5 separate regions of the Homo sapiens genome follow, and regions 1, 2, 3 and 5 are each linked to region 4. The links are contacts of gene promoters, found by promoter capture Hi-C in blood cells and fetal thymus (Javierre and others, 2016). All regions are on one chromosome and are shown on one strand. The core of a region is centred on a gene start or on the middle of the fragment in contact, and the rest is flanking DNA. Distances in the headings are between cores, read along the strand shown. Region 1 has its middle 62 kb from the start of TRC-GCA5-1. Region 2 overlaps ST20-MTHFS (ST20-MTHFS readthrough). Region 3 overlaps ST20-MTHFS (ST20-MTHFS readthrough). Region 4 holds the start of MINAR1 (membrane integral NOTCH2 associated receptor 1). Region 5 overlaps LOC124903536 (a long non-coding RNA gene).

Region 1 (5,668 bases), core at 1,265-3,764, 370 kb after region 4:
AATGGGGGTCCCCTGAACTACCAACTTCACAAGGTCTTGCTGAGAATCAAATGAGATAATGGATGGAAAGCCCCTTTGAACCAAAATGTACCATGTATGTGGTGATTTTTCTACATTCCTCACTAGTTTGAGCTAATAAGCACATAACTGTGGCCACCAGAAAAAAAAAAAAAGTCACTGCAAGTAGCAGTTTTCTCTCCTGGTGAGGACAGTTCAGTAAAGGCAACATCTCACTGTAAGGTACAGGTAAAGCTGAACTCTAGATCTAAATATGAGCATATCTGTGGCCAACAACACCCTTTTACAGAAAGAACAAGGCCAACATTTTATTCTCCCTATTGCAAGGCTGTTGACTGTCCCAGACACCGAAGGGGAGACTGTGACATGGTGGCCATGAGCATTCATCTCACAGATCTCCAACTACAAGGAGAACAACTGACCAAGGACTCTGGCTGCCTTTGAAATATATTATCATGTTTGAGCCCAGGTAAACCTTCCCAAAGCCACTTCCAGCCACTGACTAAGCGCAGCAGGGCTACTAAGGTGAGCCCTCCAATGTCTAATTGTAGCTCTAGGACTCCGCAACAGTTTTGCCAAATTTTTCTTAGACTGCGTAGCAGTCTAGAAGGCTTCTACCTATCTTTTCTTTCCACAGTCCTTCACTCAGTACAGACATTCTTCATGCAAAGAAAGAGGCCTGTTCATAGTGCACACAGGGGGCCAACTTCATACGAATCACGTGGTGTGAATGGTATGGACTGAGGCCCCTCAACAACCACATGTTCTGTAGCTCTGTTTCTATTGCGAAAGAAGGGATCGCTCAAGAAAAGGCAATAGGGAGAATATAAGGAGGAAAAGCCTTTTTTATTTTTAAGGAATAACTATTTTTGAAAAATAGAGCTTGACAGAAACATTAGTTGAGGAGTAATCCAAAGACTGCATTGACTGTCATGGGAAGCAGGGAGGCCCCTGGTCCTGAAAGTGCTGAGTCAGAGGATTGAGGCTATTTTGCAGGGATTTCATCACATGATATGCAGGGGATGCTGAACTTGATAAATCTGTAAGGTCTGTGAATCTAGAAGTCATTCAATTAAATACAAACATGGGTCTGGATAATTCCAGTACCTTAGAGTTGAAATGATCCTGAGTTCCTGCCTCTAAATGACAAATGTATTTATATGAAAGTGACCAGTGGACATCAACTCTTACTTGCTCCTGTTCTAGACCTTGACAGAAACTCCAGGTGGCCAGCTAGACCCCAGTGCCACCCTTCCCAGGACATTAGCACCCTCGGTGGGTGTGGGATCCGACACTAGCCTCCTTGATAAGAAGCACTGCGCACTGGGCTGCCTCCAGAGCCCTTGACTGCTCACGCCCATGAGTACCACCTGTGCTTGAGGACAAGGCTGTCACTTGCTAGCAATCAGCAGAGGGTTGTCACAAAGCCAGGAGCAGGAATACACCAGGGCAGTATGGCGATCCCAGGTACACACAACCACAAAAGGCTGGTATCCCATCTCCACTGGGAACAGAGAAGATTCACTAGGTTCCTGGGGCTGTGCTTCAGGGGAAATGGTAGGTAAGGAGGAGATCCCTGCTCACAGTGAAAACTTGTGTCCATAGGAGAAGAGTAAACTTTGTCCTGGGTGGCTTGTTCTTGGCCACCTGCCATTCTAGGAAGATTCATCCACACTCCTCCAATTTCCTACCACTCTGCTCTCGGCCTGCTGTGGGTCAGCTCCAGCCTCCATCACTCCATGACTTTGTTCTCATCAAGATCACCAGTGACCTTCAGATTGCCAGAGTCCAAAGCCCACTTTTCCAGGCCTCATCATACTTGCCCTCCTGGCAGCATCCAGCAGTGTTGGCCACTCCCATCTGCCTCCTTACTGGTTTTCTCTCAAGCTTTCTTTTGTTTTTAATCCCTGCACATCACTCCTTCAACAAATATTTATTGAGCATTTACCATGGGCTAGCCACTGGCCTAGGCGCTGGGAACACGGCGGTAAGAAAAAGCAGACATGATTCCAATCCTTACGGAATCTACGCTCTAGCAGAAAAGTCATATGTTCTTCAAATGACACACACACAAATGCCGAATGGCAATCACACTCTGTGAAACAGGTAAAACACTAAAAATTCCACAGAGAATTGAGCAGGTACAAGAAGAGGAAAAAAAGAGTTAGGATTTTTAGCTTTTAAAAAAATCACTACATATACATATAGAAGGTACAATAAATTTTATGCCTGTTCATGGTAATCTATGTACTGAGATACATAGCTTTAACAACTCAAGCTCACTCACAATTCAGTCTGACTTTCACAAACTAATTTCATATTACTTTATATATAGAACAAGACAAATATACCAATTCTTTATTGAACAACTGTGCTAAGCTTTGCGTATGTTATTTAAGTAGTGCTAGGTTTTATATAAATCGCCTTTTCTAATCCTTTCAATAACCCATAAGGAAGTATAATTATCTCCATTTTACAGATGAGAAAACTGAAATTCAGAGACTTTACCAAGCTGGCACATGGCAGGCTCTGAATATAGACCCAGAACTTCCTTTTGACCAAAAAAAAAAAAAAAAATTTACAACGGAAATATCCAATCTTGCATATGCAAATGAAGCTTGTTCCATTCAAATATGTGCTCTAGAGACCACAAAATAGTCTTCCCTAGAAACAGCTTTGTGAACCTGAAGCACAATCTTCTGAATGTTCTCATTGCAGTCAAGGCTTTGTCCTCGAAGAATGGAGTTGATTTTCAACAGTCATTTGGCGCATAGGCTGGTTGCATTGGGAGGGGGAGGTCAGAGTGGGTCATAGAGCACACCTGTCCTCTCATCTGGCCAGCTACTCTCTGTCTGTGATGGAATGGGCTCTCCCCAACCCAAATACAAGTACTTCTTCTGACTCCTGAGTTCAAGGTGGCCACTCATGCTACCTCATGCTTCTGTCCAGTGTGTCTGGCTCCAAAAGTGGGTATATGATCCAAGTAAGGCAAATCAGAAAACCTCTGTTAGATTTAGCATATCAATGTTGGAAAAAAGGTCTCTCTTCTTTTCAGGTTGTATCTCAATTTCCCATTGCTGCTATGACAAATTCCAACAAACTTCATGGCTTGAAACAACTTGAATTTATTCTCTTATAGTTCCGAAGGCCAGAAATCTGAAATCAGTTTCAGCGAGCTAAATTCAAGGTGTCAGCAGGGCTGGTTCCTTCTAAAGGCTCTGGAGGAGGATCTTTTTCCTCACTTTTCTTAGCTTCTAGAGACTTCCCAAATTCTTTGGCTTGTGGCCCCTTACTCCATCTTCAAAGGGCATTACTCCAAGTTCTGCTTCATTGTTCCCTCTCCTTCTTCCACCTTCAACTTTCTTTTTTCTTTTTTTTAATTGAGACAGAGTCTTGCTCTGTCACCCAGGCTGGAGTGCAATGGCATGATCTCAGCTCACTGCAACCTCTGCCTCCCGGGTTTAAGCAATTCTTCTGTCTCTGCCTCCCAAGTAGCTGGGACTACAGGTGCACACCACCACGCCCAGATATTTTCTTTTGTATTTTAGTAGAGACAGGGTTTCATTGTGTTGCCCAGGCTGGTCTTGAACTCCTGAGCTCAGGCAATCCACCCACCTCAGCCTCCCAAAGTGCTAGGATTTCAGTTGTGAGCCATCACACACAGCCAACTTTCTTACCCACCTCTTATAAGGACCACATTGGACCCACCCAGCTGATAATCCAGGATAATATTTCCATCTCAAGATTCTTAATCACATCTGCAAAGTTTCTTTTGCCAGGTAATGGAACATAGTCACAGGTTCCAGAGATTATACATGGACATCTTTTGGAGGCCATTATTCTGGCTAACATAGACTGCAGGTTTTGGGGCTGCCAGTGACTATGACAGCCATGTTAAGAAGGCTTGTCTGTAGGGTATGGGGTGACTAGAAAGAAAAAAAAATAAGACAGAGGGAGAGAGCAAGAGAGAGAGAGATGACAGTACCTTTGAACTTCTAGATTCCAGTTGTCCCCGAGAGAACGACAGAGCGGGAATTCTGGGCTGCAACATGGAGAAACCCTGGCTAAGAGATGGAGAGAGATGTGTTTACGGCCTTTAACCCAGTTTTGCCCACAGCCAACTGCACTCTCAGATATCCAGTTGGGTTTTGTCACGAGGAATTAAAAGTGAAAAAGTACCACGCTTTAGTAAAGAGGGAAGTGTGACTACTAAGAATAGATACTGATTTTCTTTTAGTGAAAAGTAACTGACCCTAAAGCTGCTCCCCAAAGACAAGTCCTAGGGTGAGGAATAAAATAAGTACATAGGTTTGGGGAAAGGCATCTGGCATCTCCGGGTAACTGTAAGAAAACAGTACTCATTTGGAAAGCTATATATACTTGTAATGTTTCAAATAATTTAATATTTTATAGAACAGATACTCATTGTTTCTTCTCCTACCCTTTAATTCATCCTTAGAAAATGCATCCATGATTTATTCTCAAAGAACCACACAATAAGATCACTGTTGATTGGGTCAGGGGCTGATACCCAACCTAACCTGAACCGGTTAAATTCTCTCCAGCCATTTGAAATTGGAACTCAGAGCTACTAGTTATAATTAAACGGTGCTTAACCAGAGAGTCAGAGAAACTGGCCTATACAGAAAGGAACCATGTGAAAACACAGAGAAACAAAGATGGGAGGCCAGGGAGAAAGAGAAAGCAAGCAAATATTAAAAAATAATAATAATAACATTTGGGAAATCTGGGCAAAGTGTATCTTGGAATTCTTGGTATTATTCATGCAACTTTTCTCTAAGTCTGAAATTACATTTAATTTTTTTTTTTTTTTTTTTGAGACAGAGTCTCACTCTGTCGCCCAGGCTGGAATGCAGTGGTACAATCTCAGCTCACTGCAACCTCCACCTTTCGGTTTCAAGTGATTCTCCTGCCTCAGCCTCCTGAGTAGCTGGGATTACAGGAGCATGCCACCACGCCTGGCTAATTTTTGTATTTTTAGTATAGACGGGGTTTCACCATGTTGGCCAGGCTAGTTTTGAACTCCTGACCTCAAGTGATCTGCCTGCCTCTTGGCCTCCCAAAGTGCTGGAATTATAGGTGTGAGCCACCACACCCAGCCTAAAATTTTTAAAGTTTCAATAAATAATGTAAACAATATAAACACTCCAAGTAAAAGACATTGTTAAGAAAATTAAGAGATGAGTGCAGACTAGAAAATATTTTCAAATTCATGTATCTGATAAAGAACTTACATCCAAAATATGTAAAGAATTCATCTAATATATAAAGAACTCAACTTTAAAAGTGGACAATTTGAATAGTTGCTTCACCAAAGAAGATAAACAAAAAAAGATGCTCAATATCTTTATTCATTAGAAACATGTAAATTAAAACCACCTTGAGATACACTTACATGCTCACTAGAATGGCTAAAATTAAAGACTGATTAATACCAAGAGTTGTCAAGGATGTGGGACAACTGAAACTGTCATACATGATGGCAGCAATGCAAAATGGTACAGCCACTTTGTAAAAGTTTTATAGTTTCTTATAAAATGGGACATGCACTTACTCTACAGCCCAGAAATTCTACTTTGAGGTATTTACCCATGAGATAAGGAAACCTAAGTTCACACAAAGGCACGTA
Region 2 (5,345 bases), core at 2,413-4,912, 410 kb after region 4:
ATTATAAATTATATATAACATATTCTACTTCAACATCATCTCATGCTGCTCTTGATCATATTGCTCTTTTTAAAAATGAGTATATTACACTTATTTATATATGTATAAAATATATATAAACAAGTATATTATAAATTATATATCATATATTCTATTTCAACATTATCTCATACTTCTTGTGTGTATATTTTATAATGTGTATGTTATTACTCAGAAAAATTTATTATTACTTTAAGCATATAAATAAACATATTTGGGGGTAGGTGCTTACAGGGATTGGCAACTACCATTAAAGGGCAGGAGGTCTACAATCATCCAGGAATAGGGAAGAAGACAACCCTAAAAAGCAAACAAGAGAGCACTAAGAAGGAAAAGTAGCACAGAAAGACAATGTGACACACACACATGGACTGCCCAACACAACGCAATGCAGTAATAGAAAACTTGTTCTGGGATAATCCAAGCCTGAGACAATGCTAAGGGGACAGAATCTCAGCAGCAAACAGCAACCAACATAAAAATGAGCAAGTGCACAGCACAGGCAGGGCAATATTCAAACTGGTTCATTCCTTCATCAAGAATTGATTGGCTCTTAGGCATTCCTGAAGAAGAATTAGGAAGGAGGCTTACCCTCATAGCCATCAAGACTTAAAACTATGAGAACTAAAGCAATGTGGGGCTGGTGCTGAGACAGAAAAACATAACAAAGGGACAATGAAGTAAGCCAGCAAACAGATTCACATATATTGGAGAACTTAATCTATAACAGACATAAAGTTACATATTCAATAAATGTTGCTGGAACAACTAAAAAAAGAATTTATTGGCTCTTTATTTTTTGTGTCTGTGGTAGATACTGGAATAAACTATGAACTTGGCAGAGAATTTGCCTTTGAGGAGATTGTAGGGTAGTGGAGAAATTAAGCATGTAAACATATGACTAAAGAGCAGTGTGATCAACTGAATTTCAATGATCTCTGCAGGAAAAAAAAAAAAAAATTGGGACCAGGAACTGTCTGCAGCAAGACACTCACGCCTAGTCACATTTATCAATCTCCTAGTTAGTAAGACTTTGTGATTAAGTGTATAATGCTCTTGACTAGAACTTTATATAGTTTACTTTCTAATTAAATTAAGCACAGTTCTATAGTACATACAGCAAACACAGACCTATGTTGGGGCCCTGATATATTTCCAATTTCCCAATATTTGAAATTGTTTTTGTGCAGATCTAGTTGCTATTTCTCTTCTACTCAGATTGTCCCCTCATCTGAGACGCTCATCATTCTTGCTTCATGTTAGCCTCTACTGAAGTGCTTGCCTCCTGAGTCTAAGGCCTTGTCTTCAGCCTCTGTGTATGCCCTAATCAGAGTTACAGTGTTGTAATCACCTACATCATAGGGGCATTTTCTCCCTTCCAATATCCCTGCACAAAGACTACTGTGCATTAGTGATCACTAGGGAGTGCTTCTCTTTTCAGGCCGAGATCCTGTGGCCCTCTGACTTTCCTGAATCTCAGCACCCTGCATTTTCTGGCCAGTTAACTCGGCATTCTGTCTGCACTTGAGGAGCTGGTAGAGTGGTTTTTAAATGCTCTCATTTAACAGAAGAATAACATAGACTAAGTTCAACAATGCCAAACTTTCTAGACCTGCAGCAGGTCAGGAATTTTACTGCTCTACCATTTCACACCAACAGTCATGTCAGCTACATTAACATTCACTTTAACCTTATAGTCGAAATAATACTTAACAATATTTTTAACCAGTACAATAATGTGACTTCATAGCTTCTGAGAATTCAGTTTCCTTCCCTTTCCTCATCATACATATTATATTGTACAAACCCATATTCAGCCTGATATTTTTCAAATGTTTTTACTTTTGTACATAAAACATCAAATTTATGCTACTATCCAAAGAATAATGGATGAGTATTTTGAATGAAACACTTCCAATGTATTCAATTATTTCATTAAAAAATTCTCTCTCTCACACACACACTATATGTCTAGTTGTGTACTAAGCATAAGAAGTATAAAGATCACTTCTTTTCTTTGGAGCTCACAGTATGGTGAAGGGGACAGATATGACAACAAATAATTTGATACGTAAGACAACATGATAAGCACATCAATGGCCAAGGCCACTCAGACAAGGGAAGGAACACTCACTCTGCTTGGGAAAGTAGCAGAAGACTTCACAGAAGAGGTGATGCTAGGGCTGAGTCTTCAAGGGAAAACAGTCTTCTAGATGAACAACAGAAAGAGCATTTCAGACAGAGAGAAATGCATGCTTACTATGTGCAAAGGGCAGAAGCCTGCAGTGCTCAGTCAGTGTTACAGGAGAATACAGAGTTGGGAGAGAAGAGGCTAGAAAAAGTAGATGAGGAGACCTCTCTTAAGGGGCTTTGTATACAACAGAAGCCATCTGTTTGCTACCCAAGAGGCTCTGAACAGCCACCGGAAGACCTTAGTCAGGGGTGCTGCATGATTAGATTCGTGTTTTCTAAGATCAGTTTGACTGCAGCTTGAGAAATAAACTGGAAGAGGCAAGATGGAAGCCAAGGGAAGCAGGTGTGACACTCTCGCCTAGTCCAGCTTAGAAATGCTAAAAGGCTGGACAAAAGGAGTGACAGGAAAATTGAAAGGAGAGAATAGATTTAAGAGGCATTTCAGAGGCAAAATCAACAAGACCTGGTGACAGGATGGACATGGAGTGTGAGTAAGAGAGCCACGTGACTCCCGGGTTTCTGGAGATGACCAAATCCTCCCCACAACAAAATTATTGCTCCCTAGCTGTGTTGCCATCTGCCAACTTTCAACTCACAGCAAATTTCATTTCCAAAGCAGAAACCATGAGTAAACAGAAATAATTTCTAACTTATAAGATACTAGATCTTAAACTCATCAAGGGCTGATACATGCAGTGATGGTAACCAATCAGTGGAGTAAAAGTATTTAAATCATAAAAGGTTTCCCTCCACTAACCACCAAAAGCTACAAAGTGTCCAACATAAAATTCTAGAGTGGGTAAAGGAAGTCATGATGAAGTGAGATAATATTCTTAGGGAATTCTGTATCCAAAGCAAATACCAACAAATAAATTAATAGTCCCCAAGTCTCCATGTGCCTGCCAGGACAGACCAGGTCATGAAAGGCGTAATGAAATACAGTGCCCACTCCCGCAAGTTTACCTTCCTCTCGCACTCAGTCGGAGCACAGTTCCTCATAAATATTTAACTTAAATTGCAAAGTAGACAGATCAACTTGTCACATTAACACCAGGAAGTTAAGCTGAAAATCACAGGCTGATAGCCTCCATTTTAATTAATATTCTACTATTCACACTTCTATTGGTTTTTAAAGATGGTTTTATATAAGGTATTTCATAATTACAATTTTAAAATGCAGTCTGTATTCACATTAATGAACAATTTCAACTAATTTTTGACAAGGGAAAAATACACATACTTTGCTTTACTCTCATATAAAACACTGATTATTTGGCTGTAGTAATCCAGATTTAAGCTGTTGACGAGTCTTCGTAAAGGACTTCATCTACCTTCATGTCGTTTTCATTCACTGGGACCTGGAGGCAAATCTGTTCTTTGAAAGCCAACGCCAGGGTGTAGGGCTTCACTTCCTGATGCTGCAAACAGCGCTTCAGATAGGCATCATAGTAGCCCTTGCCCCTCCCCAGTCGGTTGCCATGTTTGTCAAACCCAAGGCCTGGCATGAAGATGAGATCAAGTCCCCCTGCGGAAAAGAGGAACAAATTTAAGAGGATTAATTGTTTCTGAAAGATCATTTCAGGATGTGTTTTTTGTTTTGTAATGACATCAATTCTTTCTCTGATTTCTAAAAACAATGTGTGACCATTAATATCCAAAAAGCACAGAGTTGGACAAAAAAGGAAATAAAACGTACTCAGCAACTTAGTTAAGTCTCTTATTCATCCTCAACAGATCTTTTACATATATCTGTACAAAAGTGCCAGATTCCCAGGCCTCATTCATAACTAGTTAAATACAGAGAATCTCCAGAGATAGGGCCCTCTTTTTTCTAGCATCCTGGTGATTCTCCATACCTGTCAGGTTTGGAAATCAATACCCCAGGATAATGACAGTTGGAGGGCGGGAAACAGTCAAGGAGGAGCCATAAAGGACAAAGCTGTTTCTCAGGGTCAGTGAGCAGAAAGAGAGTCCACTGTCAGGCATACCAAGCAGTTCAGACAGCCTACTCCCTCCTCATTTCCCCTCCCATTGGAGAGGCAAGGCCAGGCTGCCGGGCTTCCCCAGACTCGTGTGAGAGCAGGCTTTGACCTACTCAAGGAAAGGTACAAGATGGGGACCCACAACTAGTTCTCTGGCTACAACCCTCTCAAGTAACACGAAGACCAGAACTGGCTATGACATTATCAGGACAGAATGCTGGAGCTCAGGGTGGGAGGCAGGGTCCTGGAGGCTATAAAAACCCAACTGCAGTAAGGGTGTGTGGGGATTCCCATGAAGATGGCAATGAAGGTCACTAGGTGAAGAACCTCCATGAGGGAATGGTACTCCAGCCTCTGGCAAGAAACATGGGGTACCAGTGTCAGCATAAGAGCCACATTACATGTCAAACCCAGTAGTCTGCCCTGTAGCCTCCTTATACTGAGTCTTGGCCTCCTGACAGCTGTCCTGGGGGTTTCTGGGTGACCTATAGCTTAGTTGTGGAATAACCATTCATATAGCATTTGCTGGCAAGATATACCAGGGTTGGAAGCCATGAATTCTCCAGAACAGCATGTTCAGAGTAGAGAGGATCAGACTGCCAACATGGCTAGCCCCCACTATCAGCAGATATTCTGACTACCTGCAGAACTGTGAGGTGAACTCAGCTTCTCTCTAGCTCCCAGCATACACCTGGTCACCCCTGCCTGCCAAAATCCAGCAAAGCATGCCTCAGATTACAGTAATGACCTTCCCCTGTAAACCTCCTTGTCTATTCCAATCCCAACTTTCTAAAAAGGTCCTGGTCACTGACCTCTGTCTTTCCTCCCTGTTCCTGTCCAGCTCATTTGTCCCTCTTGGGATTGACAGTGGACTGTGAATTTGGACTTTACTCCCTCGTGTCCTCTTTCTGTTGCCAGAGCACCATCAGGCTTGAAGTTCAGTTCTGTCTTCTATACCTAGAACACACAATGCGCAAACCTTTCTAAGGATTCCTGCCTCTTTACAGTATGGCAAGGTGCTCTGTAAGGTCCTCTGGAGGACACACAGTCTCTTCCCTTCATGAAATGGCAGTTCAGTTAGTACAAAATATAACCGCATGTAATTTCCATTCCAATGCACGGCAGCAGTCT
Region 3 (5,904 bases), core at 1,802-4,301, 430 kb after region 4:
CAAAATAGGCAGATTCCACAGATAGTTTGGAAAAGACAAAAACATCCAGATACACACCCAAACATATATAAGAATTTTGTTCATGAAAAGGTAGGGAAAGGGTAGATTACTCATTAAATGTGTTCGGACACCTGGCTAACATTTCTTTATAAAACATATTCTCAGCCAGGGGCAATGGCTCATGCCTGTAACCCCAGCACTTTGGGAGGCCGAGGCGGGCAGATCACCTGAGGTCAGAAGTTCGAGACCAGCTTGGCCAACATGGTGAAGGCCCGTCTCTTCTAAAAATACAAAAATTAGCCAGGCATAATGGCGGGAGCCTGTAATCCCAGCTACTCGGGAGATTGAGGCAGAAGAATTGCTTGAACCCAGGAGGCAGAGGTTGCAGTGAGCCAAGATTGTGCCACTGCACTCCAGGCTGGAAGACAGAGAGAGAATACATGTCAAAAAAAAAAAAAAAAAAAAACCCTTATTTTCTCTCCCTGTATACATAGGGATTCAAATAAAAATTCAAAAAGGATTAAGACTTTAATATTTAAAAACACAAAATACTAAGATAAAATGATGATGATTTATATAAACTCAAGTGAAGTAAGAACTCCTAAAAATAAAGCCAAAGGCAAAAATCCTAAAAGAAAACATTAATAAACTTTACTAATAACATTTTAAAACATCTGTATCCTCGCCCTCAAAATACAAAAAGTTAAGAAAAAGGTTTAAAAATGAATACAAATTGGCCAGGCGTGGTGGCTCACGCCTGTAATCCTAGCACTTTGGGAGGCCGAGGTGGGCAAATCACGAGGTCAGGAGATGGAGACCATCCTGGCTAACATGGTGAAACCCTGCCTCTACCAAAAATACAAAAAATTAGCCGGGTGTGGTGTCGGGTGCCTGTTGTCTCAGCTACTCGGGAGGCTGAGGCAGGAGAATGGCGTGAACCCAGGAGGCAGAGCTTGCAGTGAACAGAGATCGCACCACTGCACTCCAGCCTGGGCAACAGAGCGAGACTCCATCTCAAAAAAAAAAAAATGGATACAAATTATTTGCAGCATACATGACAGACTAATGGTTAATCTTTTAATATATAAAGAATTGTTACCAACCTGGAAAAAAATAAATGAATACCAAGAGAAAGATAAATTCCCGGAAAGAAATGGGGCAAAGAACAGCACTTTACAAAAGATGAATTAGAAAGGTTAAAAAACATTTTAGAAAGCTTAGTATATATTTTGAAATTTTCATAAGTAGTGTATTTTAACCATTATAACTTTTCAAAGAAGCAAGGAGAAATTAAAATTTAAGGATTTTTTTTTTGATTAGTACTTCAAAACAAAACCAGAAATACTGATAAGACAAAATTAAGTTACTTCCAAGGTTGAAAATTCACACAGATGCCCACAATGAATTTCTTCTGAGAATAACTTTTTCAATATATTAATGAGGTTTCCGGTTACAGTGTACTTTCTTGAGAGACTTATTAAAAGGGGTATGTTTCCTTCTGATACAACCTCATGGCAAACCACTATTCAAAGTTAAAGACTTAATTACAACTTCCCTTCTGAAGCCTTCTCATGCACTTTAGGCAAAGAGAAATCTCCATCTTGTGTTCCCAGAGCACTCTGGGCACATCCCAATGGGATCCTTAGCACCAGGACTGAAATCACTAGTTCATGTGGAATAGTCATCGTCGTCATCATCATCATCAAGCACTTATATGCACTGGCATTGTACTAAAAGCTTTATGTAAATTTCCTATTTAATCTTCAAAACAATCTAGTGAAGCAGATATTATTACCCTCATTTTCAAATGATCAGAGGCTTAGGTGAAGGGGTTTACTCATGTCCACTCAGCTAGTATGCAGCAGTCAGTAACTAGACTCAACTCCACCTAAGACCAAAACCTTGATCCTAACCACTCCTTATCCATCGTCCCCCTCCATACACCTGTCTTCCCCAACAAAATGTGAACTCCTATGGCCAGACACCACTGCCCCTTATTTATCTTTTTGTTTCCAGGGCATCACATGGAGGCTACCACACAACTGGTAGTCATTAATGCACGTTCATTTGTTATTTCGGCCATTCACTCACTCAGGGAGAGGTCAACATACTCTCATGTGTTGGTGATGAGTACGTAAAGTGGCATAACCTTTTTTAGTAAGCAATACAGAAACACCTATAAAAATTTAGAATTCATAGCCATTTCATGGATAGATGTTGATCCCATGGACTTACTTGCATAACTATGCAGAAAAATATCTATCAGGATGTTCTTTTTTATTTTTATTTGTAATACCTAAAAAACAGAAGCAACCCAAATAGCTATCAACAGAAGACTGGTTAAATAACTTAGAGCACATCAATGCTATGTAACCACTTAAAACACTATGCTAAATCTATATGTGTTGCTATGAAAAGAGTTCTATGGTTTATCAACAAGTGAAAAAGTAGGATGCAAAACAAAATGTGAACTCCGATCCTATCTGTATAAATTTTTTAAAAGGATACAAATATATATATCTAGAAGGATACACAAGTATGTTAACAGTGGTCACATCTGGGGAACAGGCTGGGAAGAAGAGGGGTGGGACTTTTTCTTTCATACCCTTCTAAACCATTTAAATTATTTACCATGTGATTAGTTAGATGGCATGTAATTACTTTTATGAATGAATGAATTGTTGCTCTACTGTTTGGCTTTTTTTTTTCCTTTTTGTTGTTTCTAACACCAACATAGACTAAGATGAAGTACAGTTAACTTGGGTTGGCCAAGACGGCTAACTGAATCAATCCTCTCATATCCCTGTTTTTCATTCAAAGACTATGTCCTTATCTCAAATATTTGGCAGCTTGCACATAAATATGCCTCCTTCCCACCCCCAAAAAACTAACTAACACACCCTATAAGTAACATCAACCTTTCCCTCAAATTTTATTTGTTAAACCTTCAAAGGGTACATGAGAGAGGCAAGTCTTACCTGGGGTCAGCCAATTAAATCTGCTTTTTATCTACGGTTTATCACTAACTGAACATACAGCTCAAAGTACAAAGTTAATTACTACTTTTGCAAGGAGAAACTGAAAATGCTGATGGGTGAGCAGCAGGACAATTCTTGTATTTCTAATGTCTTACTCTCATTGATCATATCAGCCCTCACAGAAGACTATCTTGCCTAAAGTTACCATTCCTCATTCCAGCATCCCTTTATCATTTTATCCTGTCCTTTCTACAGCAAAAAGAGGTATTAAAAAAACTATCTTTACCTGCAGTCTCTTAATTCTAGCAAATTAATATCCATTTCTATATATATGAAGATTCTGCTGTTTTCTCCTTTTAGCTAACCCCTTCCAAATTTATATTTATAGTTTCTCTCTACTTTTATAAATTATACTAGGCTACAAAATAGTTTCAAAAACATTTCACCTAGAAAACCTCATCTAGAAAGGCAAATTGATCTTGGTCCATCTACATTTGCCATGGCCTCATCACCTAGCCACTAAGATCCCTGTTTGTAATATCAGGGCACACCCCAAGACCATACTCTGGCAAGTCCTGAATCAATATCTCCTATGTCCTGACCTCCAGAGCTATATATCCAACTAGCCATCTACCAGCATTTCTGGGAGGTCCTGGAGCCACCTCAAACGGGATTCACTATGTGTCCCCCAACCCCCTACATCTCCTCTCTCTTCTGCATTCTTTGCCTAGGTTAAGAGCATGACATGCAGATGGCAAAGCCAGACTGTCCCTCAACAGCCTCAAGTGGCCTGGAGACTCTACATGCTGCATATGTCAGAACTTGTTCTATCCTCTCCATTTCTAAAAGTGGTCATCATTTCTCATCCATTCGAATCCATCAGATTCCCAAGGGATGGTCCACTCCCAGTTTCTTTGGCTGTCCCTTGGGACAGCCTGTCCTCCTTATTTCTGGCAGAACAACCTTTCCCAAACATAGAACTAGTCATGTTACTCCTATGATTAAAGTCTTTCAATAACTAACTCCCAGCACCTACAAAATAAAGTTCAAATCCCAGATGTGTGACATACAATACCCTTCACAACGTGGGCCTCCAGCCTCAGCTCAGGCCATGACACCAACTGAAATCACAACCTGCCTTGAGCTGAATGCAGCAGAGGCTGCTGGTTGCCCATCTGGACATCATTCTCTCTTTCTCCTTAGTAGCAGAAAACTTTACTCAGGAGGCCATGAATCCCACCGCAACACCACATTTCTCACCTTCCCTGGTAGTTATGTATGACCTTGTGCCTAAGTTCTGACAAATGGGACTTTCAAGGTGAAGGATGCTCTTTTTCTCCCAACACCCTCTCTTTCCTCCTGCTGACTACAATTCAGAGTTGATAGCCGAAGCTTGAGATACCAGGCAGGACCATATGGCATATGCGGCAGGATCTGTCCCTAATGACTGTGGGGCCTGTACAACAGCCACAGACTATAAATACAACTCCCAGACTTCTTTTCCAAGCATCTCACTGATATTTTGAAGTTTTCACTGATACTTTGGAGTTTTCTGCTACATGCAGCCGAATCTGATTCTAACTGATAACCTGAGCATGCCCTCCTTTTACTCGCCTCCACAGCACATGACGGCAGTAAGGAAAGGCACCGTGTGCCATCCCACAAACAGCATGCCTTCGGGGAAAGCAGACCTGGCAGGAAGACCTGGCTCTGCCTTTTGACTGTGGCATGCCCATAAATAATGCTCTGAGACTTACTTTCTGCAACTGTGAAAATGAGATAATAACATAGTCATGATGAGTAATAAGCTTACATATGTAAGAGCACTTAGCATAAGGCTTAGCACTTAGTAGACAAAGGGTAGCTACTAATAATTTACCCATGTCACTGTCTCTGTACAAAAAGTCCTTGGGGCCAGGTACGGTGGCTCACACCTGTAATCCCAGCACTCTGGGAGGCTGAGGTGGGCGAAATACCAGAGGTCAGGAATTTGAGACCAGCCTGGCCAACATGGTGAAACCCCATATCTACTAAAAATACAAAAATTAGCCAAGTGTGGTGGTACGCGCCCATAGTCCCAGCTACTCAGGAGGCTGAGGCAGGAGAATCGCTTGAACCCGGGAGGTGGAGGGTGCATTAAGCCTAGATTGCGCCACTGCACTCCAGCTTGGGCAACAAAGTGAGACTCCATCTCAACAAAAAAAAAAAAAAAAAAAAAAAAAAAAAAAAAGTCCTTGAGAGTAAATGTCCAGAAACTGAGCTTTCATAGACCTGTACACGCTTTCTGGTGCTTACTTCAATATAGTGTAAGAAACTTGACTCATAAGCAGGGTCCAGGCTTATGACAAGTTAGTACCCCCTTGCTTGGCACAGTGTCACACACAGTAGGACTCTCAGAATATTTGTTACACAAGTGAGTGAACAAATACAACACTTTAGAAAGGAAAAGAAAAAGGCAGAGTGGACATAATTGATCACTGGGCTCAGCTCCTGATTTTCATTTGCCTAATTCTGATTTCTTTTTGGCCTTAGGCAGATGGAATAGAGAATATTTTTATGGCTGGCATTTGCAGTTTTTTAAACAACAAAAACTGTTTTTTAAAAAGTCAAAAAGAAAAACACCCCAAAAAAATAAACGTTCACTCCAGGCAAACTTCCAAATATTGTGATGTGTTTTCTCTTTGTTTCAGGGGAGAGGTTCACAATGAAACAAAATATTACAGCAACCTTTTGCAGATTCAAAAGGTTAAATTCAAAATGTTATCAATAATGTAACTCCCACTGTTTTTACAAAGAAAACCTTGATCCATAAAGATACACAATTTCTATTACAAGAAAACGAAGTGGAAATGTACCTGAACTTGTAAAACTGTCATTATTTAAATATAAGTCTTAAAATTCAAGATAAAGACCTTAGCACAAATAT
Region 4 (5,547 bases), core at 2,119-4,618:
ACAATGCAGAAAAGTAGAGAGGAGGTAGGAAAGGAGAGATGAAGAAAGATGTGTGTTATGTATTTAGAGAGAATTTGGGGGGCACTGGAGAAAGAGGAGCTTTAAAGCAGCTGAGATAAGAAGGGCTTAGAGAGAGAGGAGGATGTTAGTCTCTAAGAAGTTCAAATGAAGGATTTGATTAATGATACATTTCTCTTGGCTGCTGGACTATGTTTCATTGAATAGGACACTTATTGAGACTGGATCACATGGACCTCATCAATTTATTAGGTTTCATAATCAACCTCCGATCCTGTAAGATGGAAACCGTCCATGTTTCTGGGTTCAAATATTAAATTTAAGTAGAACCCTCCATTTAAATGCTAGAGGACCAAAACCAGGTCAAGTGATTTGTCCAAGTTCACATAGGTGGTTTATATCACTTATCAAATGTCTAAAACCATGTCTTCACATTCCAAACTCAAGGCTGTTTCTTTTACACCACATTGGGTTTTCACACCATTGCCAATGATATTATGAAGTGAAATTTCGGATCTGAGTGGGACACCACTAGAAACAGAGGAAAATGTGGAGGCTGGATAGTTTCTGGATGCTTATTCTATTCTTGTCTTCGTGATCTGGTGCACAGTCTCCCATCTCATCGTCAGTCTCTTTCTATTGCCCAGACCAAAACATTTTTTTAAACTACTTATCCTGGGAGGGTGGTGCCATGAATTCGCGTCATCCCCCAGCCCCTGCAAACTGAATGCCTTGGGTCCATAGATAAATGGTGAATATAATTTAGTATCACTCTGGTGCAGTGAGTAGTGCAGACAAATAACCTTCACTTTTCCCCAGGTGGGGAAGATGGGCTGTGCACAAAGATGTCCACTGTGCGTGTGTGCAACGGGAGAGGGAGTCCAAGTTCCAGCCTCTTCCCAGAGAGGGGGGCATAGGAGGAGACAGCACCTGGCTGAGGTGTTACTGTATCTGTGTCCACTTGGGGAGGGGTGAGTGGCCACAAGTGAGAGGAATACCTCCCAAGGCTTGAATGAGGGCTTCTGGGGCAGGCTTACAGAAATCAGTAGCCAGGAGGGGAAAAGGGCAACCACTTGAATCCTTTGTGTCTGTAAACACCACTAGCCAACTCTGGCTGGAACTGAGTAACTGTAGGATCAGAAAGCTCTAATCTGCATTTTCCTTTTATGCTGTTTCAAATTTTAAAAGTTGTTTTCCAAAAGGGTTATTTCAGAAAGAAATTAAATAAACCTCTAGCCGACCTCAGCTGAACTAAGGGAGGGAAAAGCAGATTTTTACTGAATCTGAGTTTCAGGAAGCTATGGTTTTTCCTTCTAGAATGTGGTCTCTGTGGTAGTATTTCATGAAGAAACAGGAGAAAAAACAGGAAAGAAGAACTCAAAGCAAAAGAAAAGGCAGATCCCACGCAGCTTCCTGTCCTAATTGTTCCATGTGGATTCAACTGTTCTCGGTTTTGGGAGAAATATATACTTGTTCAGGTCTCAAATAATCTGCCCCTGAACTCAAAGGACAATGAGGCCCCCAAACAGTCTTTAGCTATTACCAAACAGGCTTCTTACCCTGGGGACCCCCTTTACTCCTTAAGCTTATGCTCCCTTTTGCCACAAACAATATTGGGACCCAAAGACAGAGCCAGCACTACTTACAAATTTAAAATCACTAGGCAAGGTACAGTGAATCAAACAAACTTCACTCCTACTTTACATTTTCAAATCCGTTTGCCCTTACTAGAATAGGTTTGAACTTGCCTCACAATAAGGTAATAAAGGCAAATGGATTTTAAAAACTTGGGCAGAGAGGAGCTCTGGGAAAATCTAGTTGTCAACACGTATCACCCTGATAGGGCGTTATTTAAAGTATCCATTTATTAGCAAGTTCACTTTTGTTTGCTTGTTTTGTTTTTAAAAAACTTTTTATTAGGTAAAATTTGAACATGCACCAAAAAATAGAATCAGATAATGAATCTTGGGACTAGCTGCAAGTTCACTTTTAAAGCGTTGTTGCCACCCACATCCAGACAGCTGAGGGAGGCTGAGACTGAGATCTGCGTCCCCCCAGGGCCTTTGCTCCGATCACAGGTAGCAAATGTCAGGGAGAAGCTGGCCAGGGAAAAGCCGCCACAGCCCCCGAGAGGGCTCTGTCCCTGGGGAGGTATGCTCCTTAGCAGCTCTGTTCGGTAACTCGGTGGCAGGGAAGGAGGTGGGGTGGTGGGGGTGGGGGTGTTGCTTTCCTTTTGAAATGAGATTCCATGGCCCCGAAACTATGATTCCCTCCCTCACCCTTTTTGTTTGTGTTGTTCTTGTCTTGGGGATGCAAAGTGCTGTTAACGTGAGCTTCCCCAGCCACAGGGACAGGATCTGTCTAGATGGGGCCACCAGAGGCAGCTGCTGTGTTTCGGCTCCACTCCAGCACACAGGGTGACACGGAAGGCCTCCATTTCTGATCCATGTATCCAGTAAGCTTTTGGAAACCCATCCCAGTTTCGTGGGGTTTGGGGGTGTGTGAATGAGTGAGTATGTGTGTGTGTGTGGGGGGGGAGAGAAACAGGGAGGGGTGGTCACGTGACAGTCTTTCCAATCTGGATCCCAATTAAGCCGACACCAGCCAAAAGAAGAAATCAGTGAGTGAAGTGACCACTTGGCCCTGGCCTTGCAAACCACTGCAGAGTCCGAAGCCCCGAGTGCTCCCTGGGAAGAGGAGAGCCGAGGACACTCTTCGCCCCTGCTTGCCACTGGGGGCCGCAGTCACCTTCAGCATAGGGGAGTGGGGAGACGCGAACCCCGCGGGTGGCTCCGGGTGGTGGGCTCCCTCCAGCGCGCAGCTTCCGCTCGCTTTCCCCTCGGCGCTGCAGCCGCGACCTGGGACCGAACGGACACCGCCTTCCCGGGGCTCCGGCGGCGCTCTGACTCCCACTTTCCTCCGCCGCAGCCTCTGGCAGGGCACCCCCTTGGCGCGACGCCGCGCCCCTCCCCGGGACCGCCCCCTCGGTCCCCCAGGGTGCGCTCAGTTGCTGCCCGTGCGCCCCGCCAGCTTGAGCGCCCCGGGCGGGCGGCGGTGGAGAAGCCCAGCCCAGCTCTCCCCAGCCGCGTTCCCGGCCCGCGCTGCTCCCAGCCTGCAAGCCCATGACGTGGCGACGCCGACCGAGACACAAAGACCGAGGCTGAGACCGCCAGGGGTTGAGGGTGAGGCCGCGTCCCGGGGCCGCTGGAGCGCGGGCGTCATGCGAGACTGTCCCGGCTGCGCGCCGCCCCAGAGGAGTCCGAGCGCCCCCTTCAGCCGCGGCGCGCTGGCCCTGGCCGGGACTGCAGCCAGGTGGGCGCCGCGCGTGTGAGCGCCGCGCGTGTGAGCGCAGACCTGGACTCGGGCGGCGGAGGCGAAAGTCGCTCCATCCGCGGGGTGCAACCCTGGGCGCGGAATCCGGGCTGCCGGGTGACAGTGACCAGCTGACTCTGGAGCCTACCGGAGGCGCGGCATCGGAGGCCGTGCGGACCACTGCCGAACAGCCGCTGGAGACCCGCAGAGAAGGGCGGGCCCTGCGCCCGGGGCGCCTCGGAGGTAAGTTCGGAGAGCCCGGGCCGGGCGGAGGGCGGGAGCGCACGAGTGTGTGTGTGTGTGTGTGTGTTCGCGGTGTGCCCGCGGCTCGGTGCACACGCGCGCGGGTTGTAAAGTCAGGAGCTGCGGGAGCGCCTCCCTGCCTCGGCTTGGCCCCGGAGCATTGCGGGCCGCGGAGGTGTGGGGGCCCTTGTCGCTGCGCTCAGGGCAGCGGCGGAAAAGGTGTGTGCGGATGCGGGGCGGGGCCGCACCTGGTGGACAGAGCAGGGATTCGGGAAGAGAAGCCACGGAAGATGATCATGCAGTTTGGGGCAAGTTTTCCTGGTTGAGCATCGCTTCAGGAAACGGTGTTTTGAGGGTTAAATATGTGAGCTATCTGTGCAAAAAGCCTGACACATCAGAGGCGCGAAGTAAGATGGAAAGCTGGACAAGCCCCAGGTGGACCGACCGGTGCATCCAATTCTTAAATTGAGATTTCCAGTCACGTTGATGTGGAATGGGATCGTTGTTCTTCCCGAGGGTTTGATAAGGATGCTCAACTTCACCTGTCAGAAAGCACGGGAGCTGGGCCTGGCCCGCGGGGAGCGTAAGCTCGCTCACACGCGGTCCAACTCAGGCAAATGCAGCATGCCCGACCTGCTCTGCCGCCATCCCTCCGAAAGCGATAATTTCCTTGGGCTACCGAATCCATCAGAGTAGTCATTTGTCCCCTCGCCGGCGGTGCGGGGAGCGTAACATTTGAGTAGCCTAACTCTCACAGCGCGCACTCCAGCATTGTTTTGCTGGAAGATTGTTACTGTGGTAAGCGGCTGGTAGCCTGTGTTAAGCAGCAGGGAAGATAAGGTTGTGTTCAGGTGCGCTTAATTCAGCGGGAATTAAGTTATGTTTGGTGAAGATCTAAGGAGAGGAAAAATCCAGAGTTTCTGCTATAAACAATGTACATCTATCTTAAAGGCTTCTCACCCATTTCTCTTGTGGATGGAGCCATGTGGTTGGGAGGTGGTAGAACCATGCCGCCATCCCTGAGGCTGTGGTTGGAGGCCTCATTGCTGGGCTCTGCAATTTTATGCTCTGTGATATTATGCATGGCATGAAGAGTTGCTAGGAGGAGTGTGGAAGCAGCTTATGTGGCCAGTTATGCATCCTTTATTCCAGCAAACGAGCTGCCACTGCTACCTCTCTCTGATGGAGAGGGACGGTAAATGGCCCTTCCTTGTCATTTCTCAGACACCAGCATTACTGGGCCCGCCCTGCAGGTGGAAGCTAGCTCACTGCTGTGGCCACAGGATGTCTTTTGAATTGACCCTCATTGAGAGCCCGGCGGCAATATTTTGGGTATTGTTGAAATAAGAGAAGTGGATTAGAGAGAGTAGGATGCCTGGAGTTGTACAATACCCTTTAATGGGTTTTCCTCTTGTGTATCAGAGGAGGGTAGAGCAGGAGACGGTGGTGAGTCTGCAGAGAGGGCAAACTTAGAGATTTTCTCAGGCTACTGGAGCCTGGAGGGAAAAACCTTAAATGTCTGATAAATAAAGTCTGATTTTTATTGTGTGTGTCTGAGAGACTTGCATAGATCAGGGAGTATGTGAAAATAAATGTCAGTTGCCAGAGAAAGAATAGATCAAACAGTTTATTTGAATTTCTGATGAGTTTGGTGAGGAAGTGTATAGCACTTAACATTTGGAAGGCAGACAAAAGGTTTTGTTGTTGGTGTTATGTTCCTTTTGAATTTTAGATACATAATGCGATTTTTTTTCTGGCCAATGCTCCAGGCAAAATTGATGTCTTTCCACTTTCTAAAACCCATCATATTTATGAACTCTCTGATACTCTGTCTGAAACAGTCGTGCTCCTGTGAGGTTGAAATATCTCTCCTGCCTCTATTCACAGCAGACGCACAGAACTGATCTGGGAATTTTCTCACTCAGGATTCCCAAAATGAGCCCTTTCTCAAATCTTGACAAACGTGCAGCAGAA
Region 5 (5,263 bases), core at 2,378-4,877, 390 kb after region 4:
AGCACAGTGACTTTCTAATGTGACAACTTGGTTAAGATGAACTACATTTCCCAGGACTCCCTCTCCTGTAGGTTTCCCATTGGGGCAGGTCCCAAGGGAGATCCTTAAGGGAGATTTGGAGAGAAGAGAAGCAGCAGCCTTTTGCTTCCACACGCTGCCACTGATCTCACTCGCAGCCAGGCCTGCAACTGCTCCATCTTCCCCTGCATCATGCTTCAGCTTCTCCAACTCCCAGGCCAGGAATATACGCTTGGCTGCAGGATGAGGGGCCCTGGCTTTTGTAGAACACCTATACCATCAAGGTCAGAGGCAAAAGAAGCAACCCGGGGCCCAGTCCATCCCATGGTCTCCAACTTGTGCTTGGGGGTTCCAGCATGCTCTCGCTCTCCTCTGCTTCACATCCATCTTCTCTACCCAACAACCTGGTATGTGGACTTCAAGCTCTAGCACAAGATGCAAAAGCCAAATTCCTCTAACAAATCCTATAACAAAACCTAATATATATTAATACACGCAGGACCTCCCAGTGGTTCTGCTTCTCTGATTGAACCCTGATTGATACACCAAGTAGCTACTAAATGCAAGGTACACTTGAAGTGGTGGCAAAGAGGAACAGGCATAAAACCATAAGCCCACGTTATGATGGAAGGAAAATTGGCTCAAATTGCTCAAATAAAATGGAACAAGAGGATAAAGGCTACAATACAGGCATAAACAATGTGTTCCAGGGGCATGGAAGAAGCAAACACTTTGGAGATAGCCAGACCTGAATTATAATCCTGGCACCACCCAACACCAGCTGCGTGACCTTGGTAAATGTCACCCAGGAGTTGTCTGCTCCTTCCACTTTCCTCTCTCTGAAAGGGAACTTCTGGGAAACAGAGATTGTTTCTGACAGCAGGGAACATGTCAGGAAAGGTTTTATATTAAAGGCTGTCACGTTTCACCTTGCAGGAGCGTGGTTCGGCATAGCATTTTTCCATCTTGTGCAGAAGGAGTTAATGCATTTTGGTGGGATAGTGTGGGAAAAGGTCATCCTGCAAATATTCAAAAGCAATTTCATGAAACAGTGGGCTCTCATCCATCTGCTGTAACAAACTGGCTGGGCGCTGTGGAGCCTTAAGCACTATACATTCAGCGAAATTATGACTCCCACTAGGGATATATCATATTTTTTTCAAGGCTGAAATGAAAAGATATACAGTGTACTGTATACATAGGCCTATTATGCTGGGGAAAATATCAGAACTAGTTTTTGCTGTTTATGGAAGATCAATGATAAATCAACCTGTATAATCTGCAACTGACTGTTTCATTTGTTCTTTAATGTTCCACTGATCTTTTGGAAATGAAGGAACTTCACATAAAACATGTAGTTTGATGAACTTTAATCTTACCCATAATTGGATAACAAAATTGGGTACGTGGAGTAATTAAAAGGATTGTGATAAAAGAGTCGATCTGCAGTTTCACATTGAGCTTCTTCCATAAACCAAGGAGTTCAGTTCAGGGCATATTAGGAAACAAAAAACAGCCCCGTGGGCTAGAAAGCTACATTTTTATTGTTGTTGTTAGAGGGAAAGGTATTTACGGAGAAGATAGACCATGTCAGTGAGGGCTAATATTATCACCTAGGGAGCTCTGAGATAAGGACATCAGTTTTAAAGATTAGGCTTCGACCTGCTAGTGAGCAGGAAGTTAACTGCTCGATTTTTCCTTAAGTGAGGTCATTTTTCCAGACTATCTTTAGATTGGTCCATCTATTACACATTTTCCATTGTTGTCGGTTTTACAGAAATGCAGACTTGCAATTTGCACGTAAGCCTGCACGTGCCTAATCCTTGTTTCTGGGCTCTCCAGTAGTGCCTGTCATGCCTGCTCACAACCTTAAAAACGTCTCTCCTTTGCCCAGCTAAGCCCTGCTGGGCTGGCTCCCCACTCTTTTCTTGAGGCCTCCAAGTCCTGGTATCTGACCTCCAGGACCCTGAGCTGAACCTCCAGCAAAGCTACCACTCCTAGAGCATCCCCTCAACCTGGAGCAGTTCTCTCAATCACTGTTTTCTGGCTTTTTCAACACTTCTCCTAGGCCTGTTCCGGTCCCGCCTTGACCTGCTCCCAACCTCCCCATCCTCAACTACTAACTGACCCCAGACCCAACCTTGTGGATCATCTGCCCTCCAGACCAGCTGTAACTCAGCCACTGCACCAGGTCATTAGCCAGGCTACTCTAGTTCCTTCAAATGCTTGCCTTCCAATAACCCTTAAGAAGCTTTTCTTTGTATCACAGTACATGAAAATAAGGTTAGTTTCTCCATTGGAGAGGAGCCAGCAGGGGTGAGAAAGGGTTCCAGAGACGAGGGTCAGAACTGCACTCTAGTCCTACCACTGGTAGCTGGAAAAAGAACCTAATTTGGAGATACCGAATTATCAAGTGATAGTAAAATAGCCAACAGCCCACAAAGTGCTGATCTACAAGGCACAGATGTGAGATCAAAGTAAAACAATGGTTAGCAAAGGGACTGGTAAAGCACTGAACAGACATGAATGCTGCTACGCGTGGCCAGATCTGCTTTATAGATGAGGAAACTGCCCATCAAAAGAGCCAAGGTGACCCGTCCAAAGCCTCACAGAGAACAAGAGGCAAATTCAGGACTAGAATGCAGGCCAGTCTTCCTACATGCTAGGAATCAGTATTTTTGTTTTCTTCTTCTCTTTTTTAATAATCATATTACTTAGATTTTTGTGTATGATAAAACACACAAGACAGACATGGTAACATTTTGCATCCATTGATCTTTTTTCTATGCTGGTTCCTCCCCACCAAAATACAATTATTGTGATACACTGCTTTTATTTTATTTTTTTAAAAAAGAGCTTGGACATTCTTCCTCTTTAAATATTTGTGTATGATGTTTTTAATGACAACAGAGTGTACAACTGGCATGAATGTAGCAACCCCTTATTATTGTATGGTTGTATTTCACTGGGTAGCAGCAGTCATCACTATTACAATAAAACAGCCTCATGCTGAATATACTTGTATAGAACTTTTGCAAATCGCATACATTATTTCACTGGGATGAATTCCTGAAAGTAGAATGACAGGGTCAAAAGTCATAGAAAATTATAAGATTTTTGTTATATTCTGCCAACTTTCTCTCCAGAAAGACTAAAAAACATACACTCTCCCAGCAGTATGAGTGTCCATTTCCCTGCATCATAGCCCAAACTTAACTGGTTTGATTATTTTTTACTACTCACATGGTTTCAGCTTGCATTTCTTTGATGAAATGTGAAATTAAATAGTTCTTATATTTGTGGCTATCTGTGTCTCCTCTTGTGTGAATTACCTGTTTATGTCCTTTGCCCCTTTACCACTGGGCACACTTCATTGTTTTCCTACTGATTTGAGTAGCACTTACTGGGTAGCCACGGACTAGGACAACCATAGACCTCCAAAGTGGGAAGCATCCTCACATGAGCCAGAGAGAACCACAGGAACTGGTCTTGCTAGATAGCCCTGAGAAAAGGAATTGGACCATTTTGCCCTCCTGCATGAGCTCCACTTCTGCTGACAGCTGGTCCTGGAGAAGGCTGAAGCAGTTGAGGGAGGGTCCACAACAGGACACTACTGCCTCTGTTCTGATTCTGGAACGGGGGAAAGAAGATTGGGGTGGAGGTGAGGAGAAGAGAAGGGAAGGACAAGAGAAGAAAAGGAGAAAAGGAGGTGGGTGAGAGACGAAGGGGAGGGAGTTGGTGCAGGACAGTGGGGAATCCACTGGAGAGGAGCCAGCAGGGGTGAGAAAGGGTTCCAGAGACCAGGGTCAGAACTGCACTCTAGTCCTACCACTGGCAGCTGGAAAAGAACCTAATTTGGAGATACCCTCAAGCAGGCAAAGGAAACTTACATTAGTGGAGGGAGGAAGGGAAGGGGCAAGTGACTACTACAATTCCCAAGCCAAGTACCCTGGGCTTATACCTGATTCCCAGAATCCAAGTCCCTTTCCACAATATCCCTCTGCCTTCTGCATGAAAGCCATCGCAAATTAATGTACCTCTAAGAGGCAAATAACTTCCTCTTAGATTGAACTGCTAGCAAAAGACCAGTCATTTGTCATCTCTGATTAAAATGTCCATGGAAAAAATTAGAAATAATTCAGCAAAGAGAGCTACCACTCTCTCTTTGGAGAGAGTTACAGAATGCAAACTAAAGTCGAAGGTGGTGGTAAAGGCAGCATGCTGCCCCTCTGCATATCAGAATAACCAGGCTCCTTCCTGCCACTATATATACAGGGTTCATTGGGTGGGTGGGGTCACTAGGGTCACCAGAATATGCAACCAGAGCAAGAAGGACTCTAAAGAGCCACTTATTCAGTGCTTCTCAAGTGTGCCTTTGTCAGAAGCACTTGCTAGCACAACAAATCAGTCTTTTTTTTCTGGAAATTCTGGTTCAGTACATCTAGGATAGGACCAGAAAAATCAACATTTTTAAACAACAGACTAAGGTGGTTCTTATGATGTGGCAAGGAGTTGATTTTGTCCAGTGCATCTTACATTCAAATCACCCAAAGAGATTAAAAACCACTATCAGGGAGTTCCATTTCTGCCTTTGATAGGCTAATATATTCAGATCAACTCTACTACCAAGAACAAATAGAAATGCCCTGTTTGAACGCATCAGAGAGCTATCAAATGTGGTGAGGTCTTACGGCACCAAGATCTCAGAGAGAAAGAAAGCACAGAACTGAACCTGATATTTGGCACAGCTTTTTGCCTCAAAGCATTTGTTGATTCTTAAGAAAAACTTAAAAGCTGAGAAGTTGTGCTTTGTAGAAACTGATCAGTGAAGAAGCCAAGAGGAGAAATGAAGTAGAAACTGGCAGCCAGGAGTCTACAAAGCTAAGCAGAGCTTTGCTGCCCCACCATCCTGGGGAAACAAAAATAGTGCAGCCATCACCAAAAAGGAGCGGCCCTGGTATGCAACCCAAGCTTTCAGAAGGAACTCCTGAAGCCTGGGAATAAGGACTAACCCAAATAAGCCAGTATTCACAAAAACTAAAGACTGGCTTCAAATCTGCTCAATCCCAGACTGGATTATAACAATCTGCCCCTATCTTGACTTCCAAAAGCAGAAAGAAGTAAATGCTCTAAGGGGAAAATAGCATCATCCAGAGGCTCAAATTCTCTCTTCAGTTTTTCATACACAATGCCTGACATTCAATAAAAAGTTACAAAAACAAGACCAGGTGTGGTGGCGCTCATG

What was found. Contacts are between HindIII fragments. The CHiCAGO score rates a contact against its expected background, and 5 or more counts as called.
Region 1: a fragment that was not itself captured here is called in contact with the fragment with the promoter of MINAR1 in region 4 in 1 of 17 cell types (total B cells); the score reaches 5.2 in total B cells.
Region 2: a fragment that was not itself captured here is called in contact with the fragment with the promoter of MINAR1 in region 4 in 1 of 17 cell types (endothelial precursors); the score reaches 5.4 in endothelial precursors.
Region 3: a contact is called between a fragment that was not itself captured here and the fragment with the promoter of MINAR1 in region 4, in 1 of 17 cell types (endothelial precursors). The highest score is 5.7, in endothelial precursors.
Region 5: a fragment that was not itself captured here is called in contact with the fragment with the promoter of MINAR1 in region 4 in 1 of 17 cell types (endothelial precursors); the score reaches 5.1 in endothelial precursors.

The regions. Positions count from the first base shown.
Region 1 is chr15:79,804,074-79,809,741 of GRCh38, forward strand. No RefSeq gene overlaps it. Among named protein-coding and RNA genes, the nearest start is that of TRC-GCA5-1, 62 kb to the left of the region's middle. The HindIII fragment of the contact is 238 bases long and covers 2,396-2,633 here.
Region 2 is chr15:79,841,686-79,847,030 of GRCh38, forward strand. It overlaps ST20-MTHFS (ST20-MTHFS readthrough), which reads right to left. Exons shown (of 4, transcript NM_001199760.2): 4 at 1,862-3,757. The coding sequence ends at 3,525. MTHFS (methenyltetrahydrofolate synthetase) reads right to left here. Exons shown (of 3, transcript NM_006441.4): 3 at 1,862-3,757. The coding sequence ends at 3,525. Among named protein-coding and RNA genes, the nearest start is that of MTHFS, 53 kb to the right of the region's middle. The HindIII fragment of the contact is 8,304 bases long and covers 1-5,345 here.
Region 3 is chr15:79,859,373-79,865,276 of GRCh38, forward strand. The region is part of intron 3 of ST20-MTHFS (ST20-MTHFS readthrough); the gene reads right to left. The region is part of intron 2 of MTHFS (methenyltetrahydrofolate synthetase); the gene reads right to left. Among named protein-coding and RNA genes, the nearest start is that of MTHFS, 35 kb to the right of the region's middle. The HindIII fragment of the contact is 2,633 bases long and covers 1,736-4,368 here.
Region 4 is chr15:79,428,968-79,434,514 of GRCh38, forward strand. It overlaps MINAR1 (membrane integral NOTCH2 associated receptor 1), which reads left to right and starts at 3,369. Exons shown (of 4, transcript NM_015206.3): 1 at 3,369-3,573. The HindIII fragment of the contact is 3,334 bases long and covers 2,477-5,547 here.
Region 5 is chr15:79,822,682-79,827,944 of GRCh38, forward strand. LOC124903536 (a long non-coding RNA gene) reads right to left here. Exons shown (of 2, transcript XR_007064730.1): 2 at 1,371-5,263. Among named protein-coding and RNA genes, the nearest start is that of MTHFS, 72 kb to the right of the region's middle. The HindIII fragment of the contact is 2,720 bases long and covers 2,268-4,987 here.